Linked DNA regions of Homo sapiens: regions 2 and 3 are each linked to region 1. The links are contacts of gene promoters, found by promoter capture Hi-C in blood cells and fetal thymus (Javierre and others, 2016). All regions are on one chromosome and are shown on one strand. The core of a region is centred on a gene start or on the middle of the fragment in contact, and the rest is flanking DNA. Distances in the headings are between cores, read along the strand shown.

The links. Contacts are between HindIII fragments. The CHiCAGO score rates a contact against its expected background, and 5 or more counts as called.
Region 2: a contact is called between a fragment that was not itself captured here and the fragment with the promoter of FAHD2A in region 1, in 3 of 17 cell types (M0 macrophages, M1 macrophages and M2 macrophages). The highest score is 16.1, in M0 macrophages.
Region 3: a contact is called between a fragment that was not itself captured here and the fragment with the promoter of FAHD2A in region 1, in 4 of 17 cell types (total CD8 T cells, naive CD8 T cells, activated CD4 T cells and 1 more). The highest score is 8.4, in total CD8 T cells.

The regions. Positions count from the first base shown.
Region 1 is chr2:95,401,190-95,404,224 of GRCh38, reverse strand. It overlaps FAHD2A (fumarylacetoacetate hydrolase domain containing 2A), which reads right to left and starts at 1,517. Exons shown (of 8, transcript NM_016044.3): 1 at 1,353-1,517. RefSeq lists enhancers at 609-728, 869-1,807, 1,799-1,878, 1,808-2,747. The HindIII fragment of the contact is 5,947 bases long and covers 575-3,035 here.
Region 2 is chr2:95,230,536-95,233,549 of GRCh38, reverse strand. It overlaps a transcript of ZNF892 not described here. Among named protein-coding and RNA genes, the nearest start is that of ZNF892, 25 kb to the right of the region's middle. The HindIII fragment of the contact is 473 bases long and covers 1,449-1,921 here.
Region 3 is chr2:95,180,357-95,183,578 of GRCh38, reverse strand. It overlaps ZNF2 (zinc finger protein 2), which reads right to left. Exons shown (of 5, transcript NM_021088.4): 5 at 1-2,476. The coding sequence ends at 1,473. Among named protein-coding and RNA genes, the nearest start is that of ZNF2, 16 kb to the right of the region's middle. The HindIII fragment of the contact is 245 bases long and covers 1,463-1,707 here.

The DNA of each region.
Region 1 (3,035 bases), core at 268-2,767:
TCTTAATCCACGTCTGGCCTCTATTCCTTACCACATGGTGCCTTCCCTGAATGGTTCCTTGCTCTTACAACAAAGGCGGTATTGTACAGCCTTCTATGCCCAAAAATGTGGAGGCAGCTGATCCCCAGACTCTTGGTCCTCACCTGGAGATTCAATCTGCCTTGTTCAGTTGAAGATTCATTAGACTTAGGTCACCACTGTTGTGGCCCACCAGTTTGACTAGAAAACCGAGGGCTTTGACTTCTCTGCCCTGCTGTCTTACACAAGCACCAACTGTGCCACTGTCAAAAGGCTGTTCGAGCCAATGTGCACACACTCAGACACTCCACATGCTAACATAACAGTAACTGCTGCCGCTGAATGCCAACTATTAAGTGCTCTACCTACAATGTCTGATTTAATTCTCGACAATTGTGGAAGGTAGGTACTGTTAGCCTCATTTTACAGATGAAACAATTAAGGCTTAAAGAGGTTAAGAGATTTGCCCAAGGTTACACAGTCCTAGAGCTAGGAGAGGAAGGAGCTGGGATGTGAATCCAAGTCCAGGTGACATGAAGTCCTTGGTTCAGAAGCTTGTAATGCAAGCAAAAAAATCCAGCTTCAGCCCCCATCCCCCTACCAAGGCCATTTTAACCCAGAATGTTGTGGTGAGAAGTGGGGACCTTCCATAGGAAATCCTCCAAAGTCTCTAAAGATTGTAGTGAGAAGTAGGGACCTCCCACAGGAGATCCTCCAGAGGCCGTAACTGCTAACAGACATGCGTGGGGAAACTACAGGCGCCCTCTGGCTGTTGCCTCAGGGACGAGGCTGGTTACCAGCTCTCCAAGAGAACCCCAGGCCCCACTGACTGTTCCCTTCCCACATGACACACACATGCAGGTTCATTCCAACCTTACAGCAATCTCCTCAGGTAGAGCGCCCTCACTTTAAAGAAGAGGACACTGAGACTCAAAGGGATGATGTCAGGTGCCCAAGGTACTAGTCAGAAAGTGGCCCTGGGGCTTCTGCAACAACCACTATATCACACAGCCCGAGCTCAATCCAACTCTGCAAGAGTCCATAAGCAAAGGGGCGGCGACATGAGGTGGAAACAGTAGCCTCCATCAAACAAAGCCTGAGACATGGGTGTGCACGTCGGATTCCATCCCACCGTCCACTCGCCTGGAACCCGTGCCGGTCCCCCAGTTTCCCCATATGCCCAGCTCCAGCCCCGACAGTTAGTGAGTGCTCACACAGGTCCGCCCCGTCTGTGTGGTCAGAAGCGGCTGGGGATCCGGTACTAGTTCTGCGCTCCGCGGGAGACCGGCGCCACGGACACCCTTCTGGCCTAGACCCAGCCAGGCTCGTCCTACCTGGCCGCGGCGGCCGATCTTCCTGCGCTGTAGGGTTAGAGCTCGCGGGGCCGAAGGTCAAGGGCGGCGGGCGCCTGAGCACTGCCACCAGTGACCGCAGCCAGCCGGGGAAATGCAGCAGCTGCTAACCCAGGGCCACTCGGCCGGATCACCCGAGAGAAAAGCGGGCGCGATCCTGTGACGTCACAGGCAATGGCCACTAGCAGGGCGCCAATCCCGGAGGGGCGGGCCCATCGTGGGGCGGGCGGCTCCGGCGGGTCTTCAGGCTACGGGTTCAGCCAGGCGCCAGCCGCGTTCTCTGGAGACGCTCTCTCTCGGAGGGACCCTGCACTTGCCTGAACTCGAGAGTGGGCGCTGCCCGAAGGTTTGTCCCTGGGCGCTTCGCTGGCCTCATCCGGTCTCGGCCTTGTTCTGGGCCTGGCGCCTTTCCCATTGTTGGGGAAAGTGGTCTAGGAGACCAAGGCAGCGTGCTGGGTGGCAGAGAATGATTTGTGGCTTCTGATTCTGACATATGTCGTTGAGGAGGGGAGGGATGACTGCCCCCGTTTTACTTATGGAGAACCTGGGGCCAGAGCTGTTTTCCCAGGGTGACACAGGCGGTGAGTAGTGGAGCTGGCATTCCTGACCCCAAAGCGCAGCGTTTCCCAGCCACTCTCCGCAGCCAGGCCTTCACCTGCACTGCTGGGCGCAGGTGGGGAAGTGGGGAAACGGGACTCCATCCCCTGCAGAGGGCAGGCGTGTAGGGAGTGGCAGCTGAACTCCACAGACAGCTACTGCTCAGCTCTTCAGCTGCCGACTTTGAACAGTGTGAGGGGCTCTGTACAAGTGGCCCCCACATTACTCAAGGACCAGATCATCAAGAGCTTTACTTGTCCCACGAAGGAGTCTGGACCTTGTTTACGTGCACAGGAGACCGCTGGAAGGTTCTCAGTGGCGTGCCATGTCCCGACTTCTATTTGAGAAGTTTTTCTCTGGCCACCCGTCTGAGGAAAGGTGTCTGGGTGGGTGGTGCGGTTGAGAACAATGGTGGTGCGGTGCGTGGTGGAGAAGGTGAGTGTCCAGAGATGTTCAGGAGGAAGAACTGACAGCTCTGAATGACAGGAGGTGGAAGTGAGAAGGAAGGAGGTACAAGGCCAACTCCTGGGTCTCTAGCTCGGTAGGTGCAGGGCCGTTCATGGAGACAGGGCTCCTGGAGGAGCAGCGGGTCTGGGGAGAGGATGGTGAGCTCCGATTTGCATGGGACATCCAAAGGGCATTGAACGGTGGGCAGTTGGAGACATGGGTCTGGAGCTTGGGACTTCAGCCTAGCTTGCAGAAGGTCACCACAGATATTGAAATGGAACCTATGGGGGTGGCTGTGATCAGGGGGATTCGCTGAGGAGAACCTGGCACAAGGGTTTCACTAAGCCATAGCTCCCAAAGACTTTCTGAAAAGCTAAGTTACAGCCTGGAAGAAAATATCTGTAAAGGCTATATTTGATAAAAAGACTTGTATCCAGAATATAGAAAGAATGCTTAAAAGTCAGTAGATAAAATCAAACAATTCAATTTTTTAGATGGACAAAATATTTGAACTGACATTTCATCAAATAAGATATACAGACAGAAAATTGGGACATGAAGGCTGGGCGCAGTGGCTCACGCCTGCAATCCCAGCATTTTGGGAGGCCGAGGCAGGCGGAT
Region 2 (3,014 bases), core at 436-2,935, 170 kb after region 1:
AGGCGCCCACCACCACGCCCGGCTAATTTTTTGTATTTTTAGTAGAGATGCGGTTTCACCGTGTTAGCCAGGATGGTCTCCATCTCCTGACTTCGTGATCCACCCGCCTCGGCCTCCCAAAGTGCTGGGATTACAGGCGTGAGCCACCGCGCCCGGCCGAGATGTTTTTATTTTTTTCAAAAAATAGCCAGGTCTAGTGGCACGTGCCTGTAGTCCCAGCCACCCGGGAGGCTGAGGTGGGAGGATTGCTTGAGCCCCGGAGTTCTAAACCACAGTGAGCTATAATTGCACCACTGCACTCCAACCTGGGCGACAGAGTGAGAATCTGCCTCCAAAAAAAAAAAAGAAAAGGAAAAAATAAAATGTAAGTCTGGTGTGTATGTGTAAAACTAAAGCAAAAACAAAAAAACTAATTTGGAGTCCTTAAAGAAACTCTGGACAAAGGTGTGCTTCCAGAAAATAAAACCAGAGGCTCAGGAGGTGACCTGAAGTCGTCCCTCAGGAAAGTGCCTTTCAAAACCAATCAGGCAGGAAACAGGACATCCCACATAATGAGGCAAACTAACTAGGGAGCTAAACATAATTTCAGGTGCCTTTTGCCAAGAATTCAACAGGCCATTCAGCTCGCAAACCTGTACTTAGTACCCATTATGTGTCCTCCACCACACAACGAGCAAGAGGGAATGGAGGAATATTTCTGCAACTCTATTCCCTTAAATACATACATATACATACATGTATATATAGGTATATTCAAAGCAGTCTATATTAGCATTTAAAAGACCAGGGTACAAACATGTGCTAAGTAACGATGATAAAATAGAATCCTTTTCCTGTTGCTGTTGTTGCTGCTGTCCATAGACAAAGCCTCTAAAGAGACTGACCTCCTTACAGTGTGCTTTGAAGCAGATAGGCTGTAAGTGGAAGCTCCAATGTCACCAAGTACACTAGATGTACCAAGAGAGACAAACACTGAGCTGGGGAATCCACCCAAGATTTTAAAGAGATGAAGAACAAAATACTGTAATGGAAATGTTTGCCAAAATCTCTCTCCTATCATTCTGCTCAGCCACTAGGCTAGGAGTGTCCCAGGCGCCCTGCCTGGATTGTAGCCTGGAGTGGACTGTCTGGTCAGGCCAGCTGCCTTCTCACAAGCACTGGAATGTCACAATGCCCCTTGGTATCTGTTTCTTCTCCTGAAAAATTGGGATATTCATAGTCCCTACCTGCTAGACCAGAAATGATATCATGTATGTTCAACAATTAAAACAGTGCCTGATGCATGGTAAATGCTCAATACATGTGAATAATCATCAGTGAAGCCCAGGGCCCCCCGGTAAAATCGAAAGTCGCAGAAGTACGTCTCTGTGGAGGGAAATCATTTCCATGTTTCCAAACCCCTCCACAGGGAATCATGCCGCACACAAGTCTTCCATTTCGGGGAAGCTTACATGTTGGATTTGGGAGCTCTTCCTCCACCCAGCTTTCCATGGGGCCTCAGGCACAGTCTTTTGAATACCTGCAAATGTGACACATTTGTGCCCCAGATATAATTTTTGGAAAAAGATAAAAAATGTCCAGCTAAGCCTGGTGAATGAGTATGAGTCATAGTCTGCTCAAAGACCACTGATGATGACACAATAGCACCCGCTCTCCAGCTGCTCCAGAGAGCACCAGGGTCTCCTGAGAGCTGACCTTTCTCAGGCCCCTAGCTGATATGACACTGCCACCTGGTGAGGCTGAACGGAACTACAGGGAAGTTCTTGAAGCAAACAAATCCCTAAAAAAAAGTAAAACCAAAGCTGAGCCCCTGGATGACAGCCCTGAAGCTCAGTAATAGTACAGAGAACTCCAGTTTCCCCTTTTGCCAAATGTTCCCCTGGAGTTAAATTAACTTGATCTACTCAGCCAACTTCAAGCTTTTGCTAGGCAGTTAATATTTCTGTCCTTCCTTTTTGTTTTACACTTGGAGACATAATTTATACACACACTCTCGCATATTTATATGCATTTTAGGAAAATTTTATATACATTGCATATGTAAATCTTAACTGTACAATTTTGACAAACAGATACACAGTTGTATGCACACCCCAATCAGGATAAGGAATGTCATCGCCCTAGAAAGTTTGTTCTGCCCCTTCCCAGGCAGTCCCCCTCAAAGTAGCAGTGACTCTTCTACTTTCTGTCACTATAGATCAGTGCTGACTTTTCTAGAGTTTCATATAAATGAAATAATGTAATACGTACTGTAGTGTTCTGACTTCTTTCACTCAACATGAGGTTTTGAAATGAGCTCATTTGTTTTATTGTTGAGTAGTCCATTGTGTGAATACACTGTAATTTGTTTTTCTATTATACTGCTAATGGACATTTGGGCTGTTTCCAGTTGTGAAGAGCATTGCTAGGAACATGCTTGAAGAAGTCTTTTTGTGAACATATGTGTTCATTTCTCTCGGGCAAACATCCAGGAGTCAGATTGCTGGGTCAATGGGTATCTTTATAAGAAATTATCAAACCATTTTCCAAAGTGGTAGTAGCATTTTTATCTTCCCACCAGTAGTGTGAGACCTTCCTTATATTTTTTTAGGTTGGAAGGGGTCCAATTGTACATAAGCAGCAACATAAGTGCTAAGAAGCACTCACAGACACTATCGTGTCAGCACTGGGTGAAGTGGGCATTCTCTACAACTCCCCACACTTTAAAATGGAAATGCTGGATTAAAACATCATAAATCAGCTCATGAAAACATAAGAGCAACCCCCAGAGCTTTAAAAACACATAGTCATTCCTCACTAAAAGGAACCAAGGATCCTTGGCTGATTCCAGATTTGGTGCAAGGAAAGAACAAAGTGAGCCTGAAACCTCCATCCCATCGGAAGCAGGGAGGCACCCAGAGGCGGCGACGGAGGAGCCAGCGCGGGGGTCTGCCACTTCCCGTCTCACCATCGCTGAGTGCTGGGAGACAATGTTCCCAATGCAGACAGCTACCAGAGGACTTGCATTAAGAATA
Region 3 (3,222 bases), core at 336-2,835, 220 kb after region 1:
GTCAGGAGGTAAAATTCAGCAATGGGGATCACGTTAAGGCAGACCTTAAATATTCAGATAATTTTTCACTAAATAGGGAGCTATTTTAGGTCTTGAGGAAGGCAGTGATGGGCAGGAAGGGGTCATTTGCAAAGACTGGCTTAACAGTAGTATGCAAAATATAACTGTGAGAGAGGTTCTTGGTATTAACCAACTTTCGAGGTGCTTGTTTACTTTCCTAGCTTCTAGGTGCTGGGTTCTGGCTTATTAGATGTGGACAGAAGTGATGTAAGCCTGGGTCTAAGAAAATATCCTACAAATTCCTCTAGCTTTCTCTTCCGCCCTTGTGGTGACTTTGGAAGCCAGATGTTCCAAATAATGAGGATAGAATAAGACAGAATGGTTCCCGTCAGGTTTTAAGGGAGACATAGCTCTCTGCGGGCTTGTTACTGTACCACAGCTTAGCACATCCCTCTTCAATAAAGCAGGAAGAACTGGAATTAGAAAGCTACTGCTGCCAGGAGTGGGAGCTGGGGATGATAAAAGTATAGGCTGGGCTGTGAATTCAGAGAAAGTATGCAAATCCAAGAGGTGTTCTGAATGGAGAGAATTTGGTAAGTAGAAAAGTCATTCACTCATATAAATATTTATTGAGCACCTATTAGCAAGGCACTGTGTGAGATACAAAGACCTGTAAGTCACACCTCCAAGTGCTTACAATCTAGTTGAGAGGATAATACATATACATAAATTATAAAACAAACAAACCATCGAGCATAATGGTAAAGAGAATAGATTTTGAAGGTGGACCTGTCTTCAAGACCTGGCATCACCTTTTACCAGCTGGTTCACCTTGGGCAAGTGATTTAATCTCTCTAAACCTCAGGGTGCTCATCTGGAGATGCAGATGGTAACAGTGCCTACTTCATATGGTTGGTGACAGGATCAATTAATCTACTTCCTGTAAAACCCTTAGCTGAGTCTTTACCTCATCGCAGGTGCTCAGTAAGTGCTAGCTACTAGCAGTGGAAGTAAGAGGTCTAAAAGCTGGGACACAAGAGAACAAGATTAGTGCCCCAAAATGCTCCAAGAGAGGGGGACTAACAGCCATCAAAACAAATGTTCTGAAAAAAAAAAATAGTACTGCTGTGATATCATTCTGCCTTTCCCTCCTGTTGCAGCCTCCAGTTTCTTAAAGTGCAGTGATACCTGGGGCCTAGGTTCTCAGACAAGAGGTGTGTCTCCTCCTAACATCTATCCTATTGTCTGACAAACCTCTTCAAAATTTTGTATCTTTAGAGTCATTTCCATGGCCTCCCCTACAGTTCTATAACACAGCAGGAAGGGAGTGCTTATTAAACACTCTGGCGCAGAAGCAGGACAGGACAACGGCAGCCAGAGTGGGTAGAATGAGCAAATGGCAGCTTTAAGACAGGCGAGATCTATCTCAAATTTGTATGGAAGTTCTTGTCCTACCCAAGCTTTTGCCCAACTCAGTCTATTCCCTGTTTGGCGTAACGCCGTTGATGTTGAATAACAGAAGATTTTGAACTGAAAACTTTCCCACACACAGTGCATTCAAAGGGCTTCTCTCCCGTGTGGACACGCTGATGCCGCGTGAGCCGGCACCGCTGGCTAAAGGCTTTCCCGCATTCGCTGCATTCATATGGCTTGTCTCCAGTGTGGATCTTCTGATGCTGTGTAAGGGATGAGCGGTCAAAGAAAGCTTTGCCACACTCGTTACACTGATAGCGAGGGTCCCCAGCATGAGCTTTCTGATGTCTATTCAGAGACGAGACACCATAGAAAGCTTTCCCGCACTCGTTACACTCATAAGGCTTCCTGCCAGTGTGGATTAGCTGATGGCGAGTAAGAATACTTTTCTGGCTAAAGGCTTTCCCACACTGATGACATTCATAAGGACTTTCTCCAGTGTGAATTCTCTGGTGTCGAGTAAGGGATGAACGGTCAAAAAAGGCTTTTCCACACTCGTTGCACTGAAAGGGTTTCTCTCCAGTGTGAATTCGCTGATGGACAGTTAGGGACGAACGGTCAAAGAAGGCTTTTGAGCACACACTGCACTCGTAGGGGCTCTCCCCAGTGTGTGACATCAGATGTCTGCTGAGGCTGCTCCTGTGGCTGAAGGCTTTCCCACACTCGCGGCAGTCGTAGGGCTTCTCCCCAGTGTGAGTCCTCTGATGGCGGGTGAGGGATGAGTGGTCAAAAAAGGTCTTCCCACAGTCACTGCATTCCTGGTGTCTCTCTTTAGTGAGAATTTCCCTGGACAGGGCTGACCGTCGCCGCAAGCCTTTGTCCCGGGAGAGGGATTTCTTACGAGTCTCCCCTGAAGGGCTTTGCTTTTCTGTTCCCATCCTGCCATTGGGTGTATGAACTTCAAATTTAGGACACAGAGGACTTTGCCTTCCAAGGCATTCCCTCAATGATCCTTCTGATTTTTTGTCTGAAGCATCGTGAATCTCAGGCTTAGTTTCCCAGTCTGGAACAAACAGAAAACAGATGCAGTTTTTTTCCTGGGCTAGGAAATATTACAGAAAGAAGAGATGCTCCGATGAGTCTGAAAGTAATGTATGGTCACTGCATTGCTTGCTCCCATAGATAGTCTTACACGGCAGGGAGGGACTAAGACCTGGGAGTGAAGAAGGTGGCAGGGAACAGAATGGATGGTGGACACCTCAGAAAACAGGAGAATGTCCAGTGGGAGCATGGCCAGGACAATCAGGAGAGCATGCCGAATAGACAGGATGGCACTCAATAGCAATAGCAAAGTGTGGCTGGGCATGGTGGCTCACACCTGTAATCCTAGCACTTTGGGAGGCCAAGGTGGGCGGATCACCTGAGGTCAGGAGTTCGAGACCAGCATGGCCATCATGGCGAAACCCCATCTCTACTAAAATACAAAAATTATCCAGGCGTGGTAGCGGGTGCCTGTAATCCCAGCTACTTGGGAGGCTGAGGCAGGCAGAATCGCTTGAACCTGGGAGGTGGAGGTTACAGTGAGCTGAGATAGCGCCATTGCACTCCAGCCTGGGCAACAGAGCGAGACTCTGTCTCAAAAAAAAAAAAAAAAGAAATAGCAAAGTGTGAGTGCACAACGTTACAGACGTGAGAAAGTAACACTTGGTGAATATAGATGAATAACACGTTAAGGTGTAGAGGGAAAAAAATAAAAGCTATTGGGTGATATACAATAAATAATAAAGCAGAAGACTTGAATTTGAGAGA